Regions from separate parts of the Homo sapiens genome. Here all the other regions are linked to region 3. Evidence: promoter capture Hi-C in human tissues and cell types (Jung and others, 2019). All regions are on one chromosome and are shown on one strand. Each heading gives the region's core, a stretch centred on a gene start or on the middle of the fragment in contact. The rest is flanking DNA. Distances are from core to core; before and after follow the strand shown. Region 1 overlaps GRIA1 (glutamate ionotropic receptor AMPA type subunit 1). Region 2 overlaps GRIA1 (glutamate ionotropic receptor AMPA type subunit 1). Region 3 holds the start of GRIA1 (glutamate ionotropic receptor AMPA type subunit 1). Region 4 has its middle 140 kb from the start of GRIA1. Region 5 overlaps GRIA1 (glutamate ionotropic receptor AMPA type subunit 1).

What was found. Contacts are between HindIII fragments. The study calls those that stand out against the background at their distance.
Region 1: a contact is called between a fragment that was not itself captured here and the fragment with the promoter of GRIA1 in region 3, in 1 of the 25 tissues and cell types used here (H1 embryonic stem cells).
Region 2: a fragment that was not itself captured here is called in contact with the fragment with the promoter of GRIA1 in region 3 in 1 of the 25 tissues and cell types used here (lymphoblastoid cells).
Region 4: a contact is called between a fragment that was not itself captured here and the fragment with the promoter of GRIA1 in region 3, in 1 of the 25 tissues and cell types used here (adrenal gland).
Region 5: a fragment that was not itself captured here is called in contact with the fragment with the promoter of GRIA1 in region 3 in 3 of the 25 tissues and cell types used here (aorta, hippocampus and liver).

Annotation. Positions count from the first base shown.
Region 1 is chr5:153,632,169-153,636,099 of GRCh38, forward strand. The region is part of intron 2 of GRIA1 (glutamate ionotropic receptor AMPA type subunit 1); the gene reads left to right. Among named protein-coding and RNA genes, the nearest start is that of GRIA1, 140 kb to the left of the region's middle. The HindIII fragment of the contact is 5,028 bases long and covers 1-3,931 here.
Region 2 is chr5:153,695,925-153,700,151 of GRCh38, forward strand. GRIA1 (glutamate ionotropic receptor AMPA type subunit 1) reads left to right here. Exons shown (of 16, transcript NM_000827.4): 9 at 2,120-2,230; 10 at 2,943-3,149. Among named protein-coding and RNA genes, the nearest start is that of LINC01861, 200 kb to the right of the region's middle. The HindIII fragment of the contact is 5,190 bases long and covers 1-4,227 here.
Region 3 is chr5:153,489,239-153,493,080 of GRCh38, forward strand. GRIA1 (glutamate ionotropic receptor AMPA type subunit 1) reads left to right here and starts at 1,432. Exons shown (of 16, transcript NM_000827.4): 1 at 1,432-1,732. The coding sequence starts at 1,651. The HindIII fragment of the contact is 6,455 bases long and covers 1-3,842 here.
Region 4 is chr5:153,346,406-153,350,802 of GRCh38, forward strand. No RefSeq gene overlaps it. Among named protein-coding and RNA genes, the nearest start is that of GRIA1, 140 kb to the right of the region's middle. RefSeq lists enhancers at 3,389-4,156, 4,157-4,397. The HindIII fragment of the contact is 9,148 bases long and covers 1-4,397 here.
Region 5 is chr5:153,739,932-153,743,956 of GRCh38, forward strand. All of the region lies in intron 11 of GRIA1 (glutamate ionotropic receptor AMPA type subunit 1), which reads left to right. Among named protein-coding and RNA genes, the nearest start is that of LINC01861, 160 kb to the right of the region's middle. The HindIII fragment of the contact is 5,507 bases long and covers 1-4,025 here.

The DNA.
Region 1 (3,931 bases), core at 698-3,197, 140 kb after region 3:
TGGGCAAGGTGGAGGCAGGGATGAATTAAAGTGACAAAGGCAAGTGATAAAGTGCAATAAGTCTACAGTGACAGGTGAGCAGTGGCAGAGCCCTAGGCCAGGGTGAGAATGGAGATGTAAAGTGGGCATTGTAAATACATTTGTGACATCTTTAGAGGGACGTGCATCCATATTTTCTTTAGTCAATCTGCATGACCAAACTTACAGCTAATTTTTGAAAGGCATAGGTGATCTGATGGGGGAGAAAATCCTACCAAAAGTCAGGCAGCTGGGTTTTCTTTTTCTAGTTTGATATTTATTGGCTGTGCTACTCAGAGCAAGCAACTTAACTCTTGGAAGCTCATCTAGAAAAGGACAATAATAATATCCTGTGCAGCCCACCTCATATTTGGGTTATGCAGTTTAAATAAATAGATGGCTTACATGTATCTAGGACTTTGGTAAGCTTATTCCTTCACTTGATCCTCACGGCGCATAAGGCAGATACTATGGTCCTCACGTCACAGGTGAGCAGACCAGTACCTGTTCAATAAACCGTTATTGAACATCTACTATGTCAGGGTCAGGGACAGGCCCTGAGACTTTTGAAATAGATTAGACCCAGCCCTGTCCTACAGAAGTTCACAGTCTGATGAAGAAGACAGATATGAAAATGTGAAATTATAGAATATCAAGATACATGCTAAGACAGAAAGTACATTAGAACCTTAGAGGAGGAAGAAATGAATTTTTTCTGGAAGGAGTGAAAAGCTTTCCACTGGAGTCAACATCTGGCTGGGGTCTTGAAGGATGTGTAGAAGTTTTCCAGGTATGGAGGGTCATTTTTGAGAAGGATATGCAAAAGTATGCAGGCCTGGAAGGAAATGGTTCATATGCATCTATGTGGGTGGGGCCTCAGGTGATTGGCAAACTGTTAGGAATGAGGCTGGAGAGTGAATCAGGGGCAGGGAGGCTCCTGCTCATGGATCTGTGAGTGAGTGAGTTATGCAAAAGCAGGAAAACTAGTACATTTGCTTCATTTTCATTCTTTCCTCAAATGCTTCCCCCAGTTTCATAGTATACATGTTCCTGTGCCTTATACTCCCTTCTTCCTTGCTTACTGTTTCCTCCAGAATTAATTTGAATCTCAGCCTTTTTCCTGGAACTCTTAATTTTAGCAGGGATATACAAAGGGAACACTCCAGGATAGTGAGAAATGCCTTTTTTTCTCCAAATGTCTTCCGGAATTCTGTTACTTAGCAGGAGTTGTTTCCTGCCATGTTTTGAGAAACTTTGAAAAGCGATTCAAACGTTGGTGCAAAGGGAACTAAATACTTGGTAGTGAGGAGCATCTTGGCAGAGAAGGCAGCTGAGCTTTTGCTAAAGTCTCAGTGGTTGAAATTGTCCAGGAGGCCTGAGTTTTGGTCCCTGGGCTGGGCAGCATGTGCTCTTGGTTGTCATGCCTCCATTCCTCCTTCTGGAAAATAGTAAAGAAGAAAATGTATAAGTTAGAGAGGTGAAAGAGTGTTAGAGCTAATTAAATCTCACTTATTTTACTTATGAGGAAATAACTCCCAAAGAGGAGAAATGACTAAGTTCATATAAAGAACCTGCAGCTAACTTGGTCATTTAGTCATATAAAGAACCTGCAGCTTACTTGGTCATTTATGCATTTATTCCATTCAGCAGACATGTTTCAGTGCCTCCCATGTGCCAGGCACTGTGGTAGATGCTAGGACAATAGTGATAAGTAAATAAACATGATTCTTGCCCTAATCAGGGAGATGAAATTAAACAAATAAACCAAAAGTTAAACAAAATAATTAAAGATAGAGATAAGGTATGATGGAAAGAAACAAGGTACCGCAATAGAGAATAAAGAGTAGGGACCGGGCACGGTGGCTCACTCCTGTAATCCCAGCATTTTGGGAGGCCGAGGCGGGTGGATCACAAGGTCAGGACATCGAGACCATCCTGGCTAACACGGTGAAACCCCATCTCTACTAAAAATACAAAAAAAATTAGCCAGTCGTGATGGCAGGCACCTGTAGTCCCAGCTACTCGGGAGGCTGAGGCAGGAGAATGGCGTGAACCCGGGAGGTGGAGCTTGCAGTGAGCCGAGATCGCGCCACTGCAATCCAGTCTGGGCAACAGAGTGAGACTCCATCTCAAAAAAAAAAAAGAAAAAAAAAAGAGTAGGATGAGTATTTTAGAGAAGGCCTCTATGAAGAGAGAACATTTTAAGCTGAGATCTGAAGAATGCGAAGGGGTCAGCCACTTAAAGAGGGTTGGAAGAGCTTTCTAGGAGATAACAGCTTGTGTAAAACCTCAAGGCAAGAAAGTCGGGACTGTCCTGAAAGGTAAGAGAAAGACCAGCATGAAGCCCAGGCAGAGGTGTCATGGCCTGGAAGCAGATGTGGTGGGAGAGATAGGCAGGGCCAGAACTCAGAGCCTCAGAGTTCAAAGTGCCCTTATTGGCAGACTCTTGATTGATCTCACACCCCTGCGGAAAAGGAAAGGCAAGTATACGTGCATTGCAAGACTCTATTGGCCGAGCATTTGTTTCAAATGTCGTTTTCGCAGCATGCTTTGCTGAGACCATAGATTACAAAAACAGAAATAAAAATGATTCAGCTTTTCTTCTGTGTCTACCCCTCAACTTAATTAGTGCTCACAGCTCCAGAAATCAGTTGAGGGCAGGGGTCAGGAGTGAATTCAGATATAGATGAAGTGGGACTTAGTTTCTGGTGTTGCCACTTGGTTTTAAAGATGCAGAACTTCTTATCTTCCATAGCTTTATTTTATCCTTCATTTTTGTCCTTTCACTTCCTCAGTGGATAAATCCTAGCTAGAAGATGAATTTTGCTGATTTAGGGCACCCTCGGGCTGTCCTCTGTAGCTTTCAGTAAAGCTTTGTCTTGATTGACAGATGCTGATCAAGTTCATGGGTATGCATTACAGTGTACGTTTGCTGGTTGGCCTAGGAAAACCCATTTGCACGTATGACTTTCATAGGAAAAGAATGGCAAATAAGAAACAAAAGATTTTTTTTCTGCCACTCACCCAAGGAACAGAAATTAAGACAGCCAAAGGAAGAGTCTGCCTTCATTTAACGGATGATTTACCTGGTGTTCCTTGCGGTAGTGGTTCATTCGTGAACCAGCAGAAGGTATTTTGTGACTATGGGGATTGCGGAGATGACTGGGCCAGGAGGGGAAGCTGTAAAGCTAATCTCTCCCACAACCCACTTCTCTTTGGCTAATGGCTTTGCTTTTGTTTGTTCTGCTTTGGCTGGTTCATGTGCTAGTTCCCAAAGGCTGCACAAAGGCAGAGCTAGGTAGATGTACTCCCTACCAGGGCTCTTTAGTGAATCCCACCTCCTAGCCCCAGATGAGGCTGAGTGAACACTCACTCCAGCCTTGGACTGTAGCCTTTACTGTGGCCCCTGAACCTAACCCAAGAATGAGACTTGTTGACCCAAGGCTCAGACCCCAAGTCTCAGATCCCTTATTTCAAAGAGAGCTCCTCACCCCAGCTCCAGACTGAGCCCCTGGCCCAGCATTCCTGGCTGAGTCCCCACACGTGGTAGAGCCTTGGCCTCAAAGGGTCCATCCACAATGTTGTGAGTCCCTTGGTACATATTCACTTTTTGAATGAACCTCTGAGGACCCCTGCCCTCTCAAGACTGGCGTCTCCTCTGCCATCTCATCAGAGTGGCTTTTAGCCATGGAGCAGTGTCATAGCCTCCTCTAGTCCAAAGCTGGCCGGTGCTAAGAAGAGGAAGCCTGGAACTCAGAACCTCTGTCCTTGTGCCAACATGTTAGTTGCAGTCTATCTGTGAGCTTCACAGTCCCATTGACTCTTGTACAGAAATCAGCAAGCAGTGGTCTTCAGTCAAACTGGGACCTCAACAATCGACTTTGGTCCTGTCAGGGTTCCTTTCCCTTACTCT
Region 2 (4,227 bases), core at 1,305-3,804, 210 kb after region 3:
AAAAGATGTTCTAGACTAAGACAGGAACTCTGGAACAAGTATGTTTATTTCAGTCTTGTCCATGAGAAACTCATAGCACCATGGAGAGATGGGGACAGACACACAAACAGCTAGACCCAGTGTTCTAATGGGAACGTACACAAGGTACTCAGGGTTGTGTCTGGCATGCAGGGGGCACGTCCCTGGAGTTGGTCTCCCTGGCTCATATCCTGGCTCCACGGCTACCCTGTGGCCTTGGGAAAGTTACTTCACTTTCCACGTCTCGCTTTCTGCATACTTAAAATTGAAAGGATAATTAACTACCCACTTCGCAGGTTTTGTGAGGATGAAAGGAGTTAAAACATAAAAAGCACTTTAAAAAGTCCCTGAAATGCAAGCATTCAGTAAATGATAACTAATATGATTTCAAGTCCAGAGCCCAATCCCTTCTTAGGAAGAACAGCATAGTGGCTAAATGCAGCCTCTGGAGAGAGATTGTCAGGGTTCCAGGACAAGCTCAACCACTTTGCAGCTACTTCACCTCGGGCAAGTTAACACACTCCCACAGGCCAGACGAAATGGCATGAAAACTGTTGAACACTTAGCCTCTGACATAGCAAGAGCATCATTAGTGCTGGCAATTATTGTTGTTAATGGCTGCGAGATTACAGGAAAAACTATTTCCAACTGAAGGAACTGGGAAAGACATGAAGGTGAAGGTGACATTTCAGCTGACCATTTGGCAAATGCCTCAGTTTTTGTGAGCCTATGCTGAGTTCTGGCTGTTGATAGACCTGTTCATCCCAATGCATATGCACTTCTAGTTCTCTTTCCTTTTTCCTTTGTATCTAGAGCCAGCAGAATGATCACAAAACAAAACACAATTGTCTAAAGCAAATAGAGATTAGAGACAGAGATAAAGAGAGATAAGTATAGGAGGTATAGCTTTAGGGTGTGTATGTGTGTGTGTGTGTGTGTGTATTAGTCAAGTCATTCTACTGTTTCCAAACTTTCAATGATCCCCTGTTGCCTTGAGGTGTAGTCTACACTGCTTAGCCTGGCCTTCAAAGCCATCTGCTACCTATACCCAGATACCTACTGCCCTTTTGGGCTAACTCTATCTTCCACCCAGGACCCACAGAACTTAAACATCTGGGCAGATTCCTGTCTTCATATCTTGGCTCATATTCTCCCTAACCTGAAAGGTTTTGGTCCAGACCATTCATCTCTCATGATCATAAGCCCTGATTCCTCCTGTTGCATTTTTCCCTGTGTAAGATCCCACACTTGGCTTTTGCTTCTCTGAACTCCTTAGGCCCACTCACTTGTCACTTCTGCGGCCATGTCATGTCTTCCCATGGTAGACCAGAGGCGTTCTCAGAGCAAGCCCTATCTCTCAGACTTCTTTGCATCTCGTCAACCCTGCCTGACAACAAGCAACACTAATGTTTTAGCTCAGAGCCTTGTGCACAATAGCAGTTCAATTAATATTTCTTGAAAGACCTTGGAAAATGAATTAGTATAAATAACCTACTCAAATTTGAAAAATTAATATTGTCAACCATAATTTTTAGACACTCCTATATATTCAATATTGTAATAGTTTATACTTGGAGACAGAAGAAATTTTTAAAAATAAAGGATAAACAACCATCATAGGAAGTTAAATCTAGATGGAAAAATACAGTTAACCTAAAAATAAAGTAAAAGAATGTAATGTTTAAATCATATGATTCCAACTATAGTTCAGAATGAGTTCACTGAAGTGCAGGGTTAGTAGACATGGGGGAAAGAGGGGTTTGACCCTGTGAACAACTGCAGGGAATTAAATCCCATGGTCCTGGCTTGCATTGTACAAAACAGACTGGCTGTGTAAACAGTTAAGCCCTTATCCCTCAGAGGTGGCAATTTCCAAACTGAACCAATTATTGTGGGGATTTTCCCTGGGAGCAAAATTGGGGGCACCTGAAAAGCACTGTGCTTCTTATTATTTCTGTTTACCAATATTTTAGAGCTCGGTGTGTCCAATTCTTCATGAGCTCCTTACTTGCCTGTCTCTGGTATTGACTGGGTGACCCAGAGCAGGCCAGTTCAGAGGAGGCTGGCCCACCTGACACCTCCACTCTCTTCTCATTAACAGATTGGTTACTGGAATGAAGATGATAAGTTTGTCCCTGCAGCCACCGATGCCCAAGCTGGGGGCGATAATTCAAGTGTTCAGAACAGAACATACATCGTCACAACAATCCTAGTGAGTACTCAGTCCTTCATCAAGGTTACTTGGGATTCAAGCTAGGCCAGCACAAGGGTTTTCCACCAGGACTGAAAGCTGGCCTTTCTTCTTGCCAAAACTGTGTAATAGATAAAAGCAGCAAGTCGAAAAGGGAATGCCCTGAAAATGAGAGGCTCTGAGTTTTCACTCTGTATCTCTTAGTTTCACTGTCTCATCCTTTGTACCCTTGGGTAACTTACTTACTTTCTCTTGAGCCAGCTTTCCCATATTTAAAACATAAGAATGACACTAAATTGTGCTGGTTTTCATCTGTCCTCCCTCAGTAGAAGCTATTTTCAAAGAAAGTCCAATACATAAAGTAGCTGTAAGTGAAGATGCTGTAATTTTCAGTGACTGATCATGAGAAACCTGGAGCCTGTTTAGGGTCTATTTCTCCTTCAAGATGACCCCAGAGGTATTTCCAAAAAAAATACAAAATATCCTGGAACATAATTTGAAAAGCTGTATGCCATATCTCAGTGATAAAACATTCTTATTTTAACAAAGTTTGCTTCCTTAACACAAGAAGCTTGTAATGGGGTAGGGAGTGAAGACATTTAGGAAGTGAATTGAGGGGCTAGAGAGCCTTCCCCAGTGTTAACCAAACATGATATTATGCTATGCCAAAGTCCTCCCTACCCATGGGTGAACCCATAACCCACATTCTGCTATCTCCCCATTTCTCTTCCAGGAAGATCCTTATGTGATGCTCAAGAAGAACGCCAATCAGTTTGAGGGCAATGACCGTTACGAGGGCTACTGTGTAGAGCTGGCGGCAGAGATTGCCAAGCACGTGGGCTACTCCTACCGTCTGGAGATTGTCAGTGATGGAAAATACGGAGCCCGAGACCCTGACACGAAGGCCTGGAATGGCATGGTGGGAGAGCTGGTCTATGGAGTAAGTTCACTGCAGGGTGGGAAATTAGAGGGCGGAGGCAGAGGGTTTGACAGGAAATCATTTGGTGGTTGGGTGGCCCTGCCCACAGATGTCTATGAAACCCTGTAATTGAGTGTTGTTGCTGCTGAACAGATGAGTCATCCAAAATCCAATTTCTTCAGACACTCTTTGTTCAGGTTACTGGTCCCAGGTCCCTCAATCCCACTCAGAGTCTTGTGACGTCAGTTGATTGTCGTCCAACACAGGTGACAGCATAGCTCCAAGATCAATTTTCTTGAGGCAGACTGCTGAGTTGTCTATACAAAGTCACTTGTGGCTCTCTCAGTATCAGTTTCTTCTCTGATATTAAATGCATCTGGAGCCAACCTAACTTTCTAGTTACTTGCCTCTCTAGTTTCATGCTCTCTCATGAAATTTCCAATTCAGTCAAATGCCCCTTAATTACTCTGTTCCCTAGAGTGCTCCCTTCCACTCTCCACCCCTAAGATACTACTCCTTCAAAACCTATATCAAATAATACTTTTTTCAGGGTGTGTTTCTTTCTTTCTTCTCATAATAGGTATGAATGTGCCTTTTAATTGTTCTCGCCTTCCCCTATAGAATTTAGTTGCTGGTTTTTTTTAATGGTTTACCCTGCCTTATATAACGGTTACCTGTGTAACAGGGGTAGGACTATTCTATCTTTATAGTGCTCACCACACTTGAAATAACTCCATGCACAATTGCTATAAAATCTTCAATAAATTACAGCAGTTTTGAAAAGCTGCTGAATGTCCCACATTGTTTTAAGCATTTGGGGAATTATTGAGAAGCAAAAGATTTGATCTTTTGCTTAATACTTTATGAGGTAGAAAAGACCCCATCTTTTAACATTTTATGGGGTAGAAAAGACAATGTGAGAAAATAGTAAAAGGTAGTATAGAATAAGGAGTCTATATTGTATGGCTCAGCTAAGGGCTAACTAGAGTTTGTCTAGCCCTCAGTGGGGATGTGAAACTTGAAAAATGACCATATTTAAACAGACCGAGAGGCCGGGCACAGTGGCTCACGCCTATAATCCCAGCACCTTGGGAGGCCG
Region 3 (3,842 bases), core at 182-2,681:
CCTTGTAGCTGTCACTCAAGTCCACATGATATACAGTCCTGGTGAGGGAAGTGAAGAGTCTGTGGATAAAATGGCCTATTCATATGGCAAAGCAAAATGGAGTCCAAAGTCTATTATTTCTTTCTTACTAAAGACAAAGTTGACTTTCCTTTTCCTGGATCATCTCCTGTTGGACAGGAGTCCTGGCCAGGGCAGTAAGTCAACTGGTAACGGCCAAAGCACTCAAGTTTGTAGGTTGTACTGTACATCTTAGTAGGTCTGTGTCTTTATGACTTAATCCCAGAAGTCTTATCTTTTTCATCTGTAAAACAGGGCTCATGGCCACTTTACAGGTTTGGAGTGAAGATAGATGGATAAAAATCTGTAAAGTTCCTTCAAAAACTGTATTCTGTGGCGGCTAGTGGCTGCTGCTTTGCATTTAACACTACTATCCTGAACACAGCTGATCTCTCTACAGGTTATTTCAGCAGAAGCCCTGGTCTAGGAGAGTCTATGAAGTTCCAGCTTACACCAGACATGACCAGCATCCAGAAAGACCTGAAAGAAGCTTGAATCCTCTCACTAGAATCCCTGCAAAATGACTCATGTAATTGCTCTGTGTAAGTATCCTTAGTCTTTATTGTACACCCACACGATTCTGATGCTATAGACTCCTGTGGAATGCAGGGAAAGAGAGAAGGGGGCCCATTTTAAATGCCTAGGATTGAAAAGAGACCACCGTTTCACTTGTAAAGGTAGACAGGGACTGTCAAATACCTGGTCAAAATACCTGCCAGTCACTCCAGATCCTCCCTTGTTTGTCTATCTGTCATTCCTTCCATTAGGAGAGAGAAAGCTTTTTTTTTTTTTTCCTTTAAATTTCCTAGGAGGGATTTCTAGGGTCTTTCCCTCAGGAATTAGTTGTAGGAATAATTGGGCCAGTGGAGTGCAGGAGATATATCCAGCGCAGCCCATGCACTCCTAGAAAAAGTGACCTAGATCAAGCAGCTGGTGGATTGAGGACTATTGTGGGGACCCCCTGCCACCTACTGACTTACAGCTGAACCCACATTCCCAGCAGCTTCAGCCTGGGGGCTGGGGGAGCGGGCAGACCGAGCTCAGAAAGGCAGGGGAGGGTAAAGAGGACTGTGGGGTTGCCCCTTTCAGGACCAAGTGCCACGTGTCACACACCCCCACCTCCACCTTTCTGCACACACAGAAAGGAGGATAAGGTGAGGATGGGAGGAAGGGGGAACAGGTAGGGAGGTCGGCTGTGGAACTCCAAGCTAGCTCGGTGGGTATTAGCATAGAGCTTGCTGCCTGTGTGAGTGTGAGGGGGAGAGCGAGAGAGAGCAAGGGAGGGAGAGAGAGGCAGGCTGCGAGGGGAGAGGAGAGGGAGTGGGGGAGCCAGCGCTCCAGCTAGCATGAGGACGGGCTTCTTTTCCCGTGCTCAGTTAATCTGGCTGTCAGTTGGTGTTAACGCTGCAGTTTAAGTGTTCGGATTCCAAGGGAAACAGACAAACCTCACGAAAGGAAGGAAGCAAGCAAGCAAGGAAGGAACTGCAGGAGGAAAAGAACAGGCAGAACAGCGAGAAGAATAAAGGGAAAGGGGGGGAAACACCAAATCTATGATTGGACCTGGGCTTCTTTTTCGCCAATGCAAAAAGGAATATGCAGCACATTTTTGCCTTCTTCTGCACCGGTTTCCTAGGCGCGGTAGTAGGTGCCAATTTCCCCAACAATATCCAGATCGGTGAGTGAGGGGGCAGCCTGGGGAGGGACTTTCTGGGTCTGGCCAGGGATTTTTTTGGGGATAGGGGTTGTGTACCCCCTCCCCGGTACTGACTGTTTTGCTTGGCTCCCTAAAGCTGTGCTGCGGTAACAGAAGGGAGACTTGGGCTTACAGCCAGAGGAGGGGGCTTCTCCTGATCGGATGAGGGGCAGAGGGGAAGTGTTCACACACGCACACATACCCTACTCGCACTCCAGGCAAGAGCATGTGAAATGGAGGAACCATCGCTTTGGAGGAAAAAAAAAATCAGGCTGGAAAGGGTGGTGGGTGTTTAAGGAGTTAACTCTATTGCTTGGTAGATGGTGCTTGATTCCATTTTTAATGTAAGTATGTATGGTGTGTGTGTTTTCACGTGTGTGATTATATATTACATATGCACATATATATGTAATTGAAGGAGGCAGTGCTTTCTCTGCTGGGGGACAGAAAAGAGACCCTCGAGAAGAAGGAGTGAGGGGTGCTGGGTATATTGCAGCCACTGAAATAATGCCAGAAGGCCCCCACTCCAAGGCGGGTAGGCTCCCTCTCCTGTTCTGGACTCCTCCAGCTGCCTTCTCTTTGCTGTCTGCCATGCTGCGCTGGTGGTCTCCACTCCCCCGATCCTGGAACTTCCTCGCCTGCCTTTTCTCCGTTCCTTCCTTGCCCCCTCCTCTTAGATTTCCTATCCACAGAGGTCTACCTTTTACACACACAAACACACACACGTACACATGCTCCTTTCTCCTCCTGTTGGCTCTCCATTATCCTTGTTACTGGGCTCCATCCTCTCAACTTGGAGGCAGGTTTCAACATGCTGCATGCTTTTTTTGTTCCCCATTTCCCCTTCTTAGTTGTTACACTTCTCAAAGGCCCCGCCACCCTCCCTGTATTTCTGAGGGGACTGACAGATATTGCTACTCCTGATAATCATGAGGGAAAGCAAAACAAACAGAAGCAATAACACCAATCACAAAGCATGTCCACAAGGGCTTGGGGCTTCCGTGTGACCAGCATGTCAGTGTCGTTTGTGTCCCGGAATGAAGCAAGCTGCTGTGTTTGGAAGCATCTTCGTTGGTTTGGTTTCTAGTCTCTCTCCCCTGGTAGGGAGATAGCTCCACTAGGGAAAGTTCGCATTGCTGGGAGTTTGTGCTCTTTTGTGAGTGTGTGTTTGAGGGGGGATGTGGTGCAATTGATATTTTGTCGGGCATACATGTGCTGCAGTACCCATCTCTTTCAGCCTCTCCAGCTAGCTGGCGGCTTGGAGTGGCCATGGAGTAACTTGCTTTGTTTCCTGACACCTGTTAAGCTACATCCTGAAGTGTGTACGTATCTGTGTGTTAGTGCCTAACACGCAAAACTTCCTGCCTTCAGGGGAGACACTTCCCTTGTAGCCCAGCCCGTAGCCTTCTACTCCTCAACCTCCCATCCTTTCTCTTTCATTCATTGCAGAGGAGGAGAAAGGGGACAGGGAAGTGTTTGGGGTGTGGTCATCTGGGGGGAAGGGGGAGCATCATAATCAAGAATTTTTTTTGTTTTCATTCTTTAAAATGGGAGCACTTGTACATGTGGAAATCACTGGCTCTTACATGTGGCATTGTTTACATTTGTGCTTATATACTACCTATCCTTTGTGGCTTGGAAGTGTTTGTCTAGTATATTTGTGTATATAGTAAATGGTATAAATGCATGAGGATGTTTCATGTATGTGCTATGTTTTCTCATGTATCTCTGCATATTTTTAAAATTATATTTAGCCCTAACTTGGTTGTTCAACTGATAAAGCCATTGCTACTGTTTTCAAAAAAAAAAGAGATTGAAGCATTAAATTGTAGAACAAAATGCTGAAAATATCACTGCCATCAGGTAGTACTTGATTCTATTTGTGTGATCTGTAACAAAAGGCTTGCAATCCATTTATTGGTTCTTAAAAACAGACACCCACTCTACAAGAAGTTAGAAGTGCATTATGTTTGGACTGTGATTACTGTCAGATTTGAGATAAACTTCTATGTAAACATCATTATAGTTCAGTCTCTAGAAATGGCTGATTTTAATTCACAGAAATGTAATTGATTTACATGTTGACAGTAAA
Region 4 (4,397 bases), core at 130-2,629, 140 kb before region 3:
CCTACTGACTCAAGAATTCAAAGTCACAGGGATGGGCAAAATGTTATCTCAAACCTAGCCCACAGAAATATATTTTTCCTGAAGTTGTACAGCTCACGTTACTTCCCTCATTACATCTTATAAAATTTAAAGGGTGTATGTTTGGAGTTCAACAGACCTGAGTTAAAGTCCTGGCTCTACCCCATTCTAGCTAGATGACTTTGGACAAGTTATTGACTCTCAATGCCTCAATTTCCTCGTGAGCAACATGGAAGCATTCATATGTAAGTTTGGAGCTATCATACTCATTAAATAAGATAATACTTATAGATTATAATACAGTGATGAGTTCCCTAGTCAGTTCAGTGGTGGTGGTAGTAGTAATTAACATGATAGTGTATTTTATAATCTATATCTGATAATTAATAATTCTTTTAAACTTTTATTTTCAGTGTAATTGCAATTCTAATGTGAAAAATATTCATGTTCTACTTGTGCTCATTTATTCCACATCTTTCCTGGCAGCAATGGGCATCCACGAAGCAGGCATGTATATCACTTTTGCTATCCTGACCCTTGAGTGTAATTATCCAGTCTCTGTAGTTAATGTATGGTATCTGCAGTCATTACCATTTGTAGTTCTTAATCTCTCCTTCATCATTCTGGCTGCCTTTGGCTAAGAAGCATTATTCACGCATTTACAATCAACTCTCAAAAACTCAGCTGTGTTATTTGACCTCATATTTCCTCTCTCTTCCCACTTCATTAGTTATATTTTTATAGAATGGTCACCTTAAACCCACAAAGAGAGGTAGGAGCAGATAGAGAAAAAAATCTCTAGTTGGATCAACTAATGATTCAAGTGCGGATAAAACAGGGACCTAGTCTTTTAAACCAGTATTTTCTTGCCTTCACACCTCTCCTGGATAAGCTAGGTGGAGGTTCTCCCACCACAGTGAATAGACAGAAGAGCATCCTTCTAAAACGTTCCTGATGAAGGTTTATTTTCCTGAGCCAGGAGTGTCCTCAATACACCATGAGCCCTGCTATCAAATATTTGTAGAAGATAAGTGGCTCTGAATCACAACTGCTTTGAAGCCAAAATCATTTTTGACAGACACCTTCTGCCACCCTACAATGCCAAGTTAGGTCAGCACTAACAATTCTGACAACAGGTCAATTTATTTGATTATTTTATTACATTTCACAACTAATTTTTTCTCTGGGAGTTCACCAGGGTGTCACATGATTTGAAGTTTGTTGTTATTAAAGTGTACTATTGAGGTATTTTTAAATTGCTATACTGGTTTATGGGAAATACTTCCTGGAAAATATTCTAGGCCAGTGACTCTCAGCCTTAGCTACACGTTAGAATTAACTGGGGGAGCTTTTGAAAAAAATCCCAATTTCCAGGCTACATCACAGAGCAACTCAATAAGAATTTCTGGGGTTGAGACCCAGCCACTAGTATTTTTTTTTAAAACAGCTTAAGTAATTCCAGTGGGTTGCCAAGATTGAAAACCACTATTCTAGGCTAAGATGATCATGGCCATAATCTAGGAAAGTAGTTCTCAAACATTTTCTATTTGTTTGTTTGAAGCAAGGGCATTCTTTTATCAAATAAAATTGTAAATCAGATGTGACAGACTCTTCTGCTCTGGAATGTGGGCTGAACTTAAAATCTACCTTCTAATTAATAGAATACCATAGACTAACACACAAGTAATAGGATGTCACTTCTGATATTAGGTTACAAAAACACTGTGTTTTCCATCTTGGATTCTCTTGTTCTCTCTTGGATCACTTACTTCCAGGGGAAGCCAGTGGACATGCCATAAGACAACCTTGTAGAAAGTCCACAGGAATGAGTTGGGAAGTGGGTTTTCTGAGATCTGCCAACTGCCATGTGAGTTAGCTACTTCTTGGAAACAGATCCTACCCAGATCAAGCTTTGAAACAACTGCAGCCTCTTGAACAATCTAAAGCCAGAACAGCCCATCTAAGATTCTTCCAATCCCCAACCCACAGAAACTTTGTGAGGTTGCAAAGGGAACAAAGGAGAAAGGAAGGGACAGAGAGAAAGAAAAAAAGAAAGTAGTAACACAAAAGAAAGAATACAAAAACACTGTCTGTCCACATGTCGATCTCATTAGATTTATAGATTGCATCTCATTGATCATAAGACAGGACACTAAATTAGTGCTTAATAACTATTATTAAATACATTTTTAACTCTCCTCTTCTGCCTAGATCTTTTCCCTCATATTTATTCCTGCACTGCATACCTGTCTGTGAGTCCTCAGGGTTCTGACACTGACCATGTCTTTGTAGCTTGATTGTATTAAAGCAGAAAAGCAACTCACGTTTGTCAACTGTCTCCGAAATGCCAGGAATTTCTCTGTCTTTTCTGTGGCACTTCATCTAATTTCCACAACCATCTTCTAAAGTGTCATTATTTCTATCTTGTGGATGAGAAAGCTAATGTCAAAGCAGTTTAGAAACTTTCCAAATATCACATAGATAAGTAGGAAAGTCAACATGTGACCTCAGAACTACCTAAGCCCACACACATTCTTTATCAGGTAATGTTTTAATACCTTACAGTAGATAACATTAAATTTAAAAATAAAAATGACCAGAAGCATTAATTTGTAGGTATCTTGGAGAAACCCTTAGAGTTGGGAAGAGTGAGAACTCTGGATCCCATCCCATTCCACAGATGAGAAAACTGAGGCCCAGAGAGAGAAAGTGACTCATACAAGTTTCTATAGCTCTTAAATGTCGGATCAGGGTATTAACAAAACTCTCCAAGAGGCAGGACCCTTGGCACTGAGGAATAGGAAATTCGGTTTCAGATATATCTGGTTTAAGGTCTGTCTCTGCCAATTTATTTATTAAGGAATATTTATTGAGCGATTCCTACGTGCTGGTCCTAGTGTGGGTGCTGGAAACTGAACAAAACTGTAAAGACCCGGCTTCAATGGAGGTGACATTCTATTTGGGGAGAATGAATGAGAGATAGAGAGAGACATTAAAGTATATAATTTCAAGTAGTCATAGAAATGGTAAAAAAAAATAAATAAATAAATAAAGCAAAGTCATACGACAGAGTGAAGGGTGAGGCAACTTTGAAAAAGCATGATCAAGGAGGGCCTCTGGGAGGGGGTGACAGCTGTGCTTAATCCTGACAGAAAGATGCAGCCAATCACATACCTGAAGAGGAAGGAATCAAGCAGAGGGCACAGCACATGTAAAGGTCCTGAAGGGAGAATGAGCTTGAATGTGTGAGGAGCAGCCACTGACCGGTTGATTTTCCTTGGGCAAGTTATTATGTTTCTCTGGGCCTCGTTTTTCTTATTCCTGAAAATGACAATAACACTTTCTATACAAGACCTGGCATATGATAAGCACTCAGTAAATGTTTGTGGAATAAATGACATTGATTCCATTCTTTGTTTATTTCACCCTTTGCTCAGGATCATGTCTAAATGGGTTATTCAGGCAATTTTCTGTTCTCGGGGTTCTCCCTTCTACCAATTAAAAAAACAAACAAAAACAAATTCAAGTTGCATTGACTCAAGTGCCTTACCCAAAGCAGTTGTCAAGGTGTAAAGTTGTGCTCAGGCAGGGCATCTGAATTTCTCTCCCTGTCGTTCATCCAACAGTCTGGATTTGCTTCCTGAATATTTGCTGTCTTAAACAGTCTCCCTCCAGATGCAGGGCATTAATTCCAAATTGGCTCCCCATACTTTCCCGTCAGAGGTTGTCATTTGCGGAGCGGGTGATGGAAGGACTGAGTGATGGAGGGCAGTCCCTTCAGAGCCCATCAGCTTTATTCTCAAAGCAGACACTGAAAAATGTGAGGCTGCTGCCAAGCCACAGGGCTCAGGGAGTATCCGCTGTCTCCACACAAAGGCTGAAATAATGAGAATCCTCTGGTCGGTATCATGTAGCAGTCTAAGTAGGACACAATAACCCCATTTACAATGTTAATAACAATAGGCTGCATCAATAGGTTGTTATTCAACAACACTAGCATGTCAATAAAACCTTTTTACATCCATTTAACACATATTAAGCACCCACTGTGTGCCACACAAGCTACCAGGTTCTGAGGTTAGAGAAATAGATAACACAAGCCTTGATGAGACTTACATTTGAAAAAGGAACGTCATGATGTCAGGTATCAAGAGCTTAGAAAACTAAGGCAGAGAAAGTGATTAGGAGGCATAGAAAGAGCTGGGGGCCAGTTTAGACTGAGTGGGTGTGGTCAGGGAAGACATCCCAGGAGGTGACCCCTGAGCAGAGACCTGACTACAATGAGGGAGAACCGAAGGAGACCATGAAGGAGTGGGGAGACCTAACTACTATGCAGGTATCTGAAGGAGAGGGATCCAGACAGAGCAGGGAGAAACCAG
Region 5 (4,025 bases), core at 1,173-3,672, 250 kb after region 3:
GTACTCTAGCCATTTCCATTATGATTTATGAGACGTGTTGTTGATGATCTTATTAATATCTTTTTAAAATATATGCTGATTGCTAATGTTCTCTATAATAAACTGGCAAAGCACATGCAAATCCCTATTGATACACTAGTTTTGGGAACACATGGGTGGATATAAGCAAAGAACAAATGTTTGGCATCTAAAGTGAATTTTGTTTTCAATTTTGTGTTCCGCCCAAGGAACATTTGTTGACTGACTAATGTATTAGGGATTGCAAAGGATTCAAAGTTGAAGATCTCACCCCTACCCTCCAGCTGCTTACAATCTAGTACAGGCGGAGAGGAGAACAGCTTCAACAACAGGTAGCACATATAAACCAGGTAGGCAGAGTGAGATAAGGGAGACAGGTGTGGAGGGCTAGATGGAGAACTGGGCACAGCAGCAGACTGCATGCATGAGGTCAGAACTGAGCTGAGCCTGTCCTCTGCTGCACTCTCAGCACAGTGTCAGGCACATAGTAGCCTTTCATAGTCACAGCAGGGACGAAGGAAGGATAGAAGGACAGTTGAGTCCAAGTTCTAATCCTGTCACTTAGAGGAATGTGGCCAACCACTATCTTTTCTGACTCAAGCTCTTCATCTGTAAAATGGCAACTGGGGGAAAATACTTCTTCCTAGGGAGTTGCTGTGGGAGAGGAACTTGTGGTTGTCATGAAAGTTGTCCACCAGATATATCCAGCTCTCTTCCTTTTATGCACAAGGCAAAATTGCTGGTCCATTTCCATACTGATGCTAGTTGCAGACATTGTATTTCATCTGGCCAGTGAACTATGAACAGAAGTGATGTGTGTCACTACTGAGAAGAAGCTTTAAGAGCCAGTATGTATGTCACTGGGGATGTTCCAGATGGCAGTTTCTCTGTCATTCTTAGCCCCAGGAAAGTGTGGTAGGACAAGAACCTCCAACCAGCCTGCCATAGATACGTAACCTGAGCAAGAAATACATCTGAAAAGACAACAAGTCTTGGCAGGGATGTGAAGAAATTGGCTTTTTTTTTTTTTTTTTTTTTTTTTGAGATGATGGAGTCTCACTCTGTCGCCCAGGCTGGAGTGCAGTGGCACAATCTCTTCTCACTGCAAGCTCTGCCTCCTAGGTTCACGCCATTCTCCTGCCTCAGCCTCCCGAGTAGCTGGGACTACAGGCACCTGCCACCACTCCTGGCTAATTTTTTGTATTTTTAGTAGAGATGGTTTCACCGTGTTAGCCAGGATGGACTCGATCTCCTGACCTAGTGATCCGCCCACCTCGGCCTCCCAAAGTGCTGGGATTACAGGCGTGAGCCACCGCTCCCGGCCAGAAATTAGAATTCTTATACACTGTGAGTGAGAATGAAAAATGGTTCAGCCACTATGGAAAACAATATGGAGGTTCCTTAGAAAATTAAAAATAAAACTACCATATTATCCAGCAATCCCACTTCTAGGGGTACTTATACAATATAATTGAAATCAGCATTTTGAATATATATTAGCACTCTCATATTTATTACAGCCCTATTCACAGTTGCCAAAATATGGAAATAACCTAAATGTACATTGACAGATGAATAGATAAAGAAAATGTGGTGTACACATACAGTGGAATATTTTTCAGGCTTAAAAAAGGAAATTCTCTAATATACAACAACATGGATGAACCTTGAGGACATTATGCTAAGTGAAATAAGCCAGTCACAGAAGGACAAATACCGCATGGTTCCACTTATATGAGATATCTACAATAGTCAAATGCATAGAATTAAAGAGTGGAATGGTGGTTGCCAGGGACTGAGGCAGGGGGAAATGAGGAGTTACTAATCAGCAGGCATAAAATTTCAGTTAAGCAAGATGAGTAAGCTCTAGAGAGCTGATGCATAGCATTGTACCTATAGTCAACAATACTGTGCACTGAAAACATTTTGTAAGAGGATAAATCTCATGTTAAGCATTCTTAACGTATAAAACTAAAGCTTTTTTTAAAAAAAAAAAAAAAAGAAAAAGAGGAAATATGCCTAGTGTGTTAAGCCAAGATCTGGGGATTTGCAGGCTGTTTGTTATCACTGCATAGCATATCACAGCATACAGAATTTAACAGAGAAACCCCTTTATACAACCTAAAGTTTAAGTAAATATAATAGCTAGGAAAGATACGAAAAAAAATATGTTGCTTTAGAAGAGATTGCACCTGGCTGAGGGGGTCCAGAAAAACTTCTTGAAGAAGTTGTCATTGGAGATGGATTTTGAAGTGAGGAAGAATGTCTAAAGGCACATATGGGGAAGCAAGATAAGAAGAAGGTAGGAGTGTGCAGGAAGGAAAGTACTCAGAATGGACAGGGCGGTGGATGACTAACAATAGTCACGAGAAGTAGCATAGGTTACCACTCACTCTGTCAGTCGCTGTCCTGTGTGACTTACCTGTACTTATTCTTATTCATTTTCCATCACTGCCATAACAGAACTTAAATCTTACAGCGGCTTAAAACAAAACAAATATATTATCTTACAGTTCTGTAGCTCAAAAGTCCAGTATGGGCTTTGCAGGGCTAAAATAAAGGTGTGAGCAGGGTGATATTTGTTTCTGGGACCTCTGGGGAGAATATGGTGTTTTGCTCATTCAGGTTGTTGGCAAAATCCACTTCCTGTGTTTGTGAGACTAAGATCTTGGTTTCTTTCATGGTTCTCAGCTAAGGGCTCTTTCCTGCTCCTAGAGGATACCCTTAGTCTTCGACTTGTGGCCCCCTTTTGCTCTTCTCCAAGCCAGCAATGGAAGATCAACCTTCTCTCATGCTTTATATCTTTCCTATGTCTTCTTCTGTCTTACTCCTTGAGCAACTCTTCTGCCTTCCTCTTTCAATCTTAAGGTCCAACATGATTGCATTGAGTCCACCTGGAAAATCTTCCTATTTTAAGATCCCTAACCTTAATTCTGTCTGAATGGTCTCTTTGCCTTGTAATGTCACATATTCTCAAGTTCTAGGGATTAGAGCATAGATGTTTTTGGGGGGCAAATTTTCTGCCTATCACACCTTACTTTGTGGGTGAGGAAATTGAAGCTTAGTGTGCTTAGGTAACTTGTCCAAGGACACCACCCAGTTCTTGGCAGAATGGCTTTTGATCCCAAGCAGCCTGAAAGTGAGCCTTTATTCTTAACTGCCTCTTCACCCAGAAAATAGAGAGGAGAAAAGTGGAGACCGAGGCTAAAATGATAGATTAGGAATTTATTGCAGACATCGTCAAATGGCAGACACAAAAAAATGGCTTAAGGGAGTATTGTATAATGATTGTCAGTCACCATACATTAGTTTTCCATTGCTGTGTAATGAATAACCACAAACTTAGTAGCTTCGACAACACCCATATATTACCTCATGGTTCTATAGGTCAGAAGTCCAGTAGGCTGTGACTTGATTCTCTGCTCAGGTTCTCATAAGACTGGAATCAAGATGTCAGCCTGCTGAGCTCTCCTCTGGAGCTTGGGGGTTCTCTTCCAAACTCCTTTCTTTTATTAGCAAAATTCAGTTTCTTGTAGATATAAGACTGAAATCCCCATTTTCTTGCTGGCTGCCACTGGGGACCACTCTCAGTTTCTTGAGGCCATCTCAGATACTTGCCCATGGCCCCTCCAACTCAGTGATAGGACCCTCCCTCAAATTAAATCCCTCCCACTTCAAATCTCTCTGTCTTCCTCTTCTTCCTCCAGATGGAGAAAATTCTTCTTTTAAAAGACTCATGTCATAGATTAGGTACGCCCAGATAATGTTCCTGTCTTAAGTTCAACTGATTAATAAACGTAATTACATGGGCAAAAGCAAAATCCCTTTTGCAATTGAACATAACATAATCATAGCAGTAACACCAGGGGGCAGAGGTCATGGGGCGATCTTAGAATTCTGCCTACTGCACATCCTATGCATAACGGGGTGGATAATCTCATGCTCATTGGACATATGTGGAGCACAGAGGTTAAGGTCCAATGGCAGAGCTGGACACAGGGCCCAGG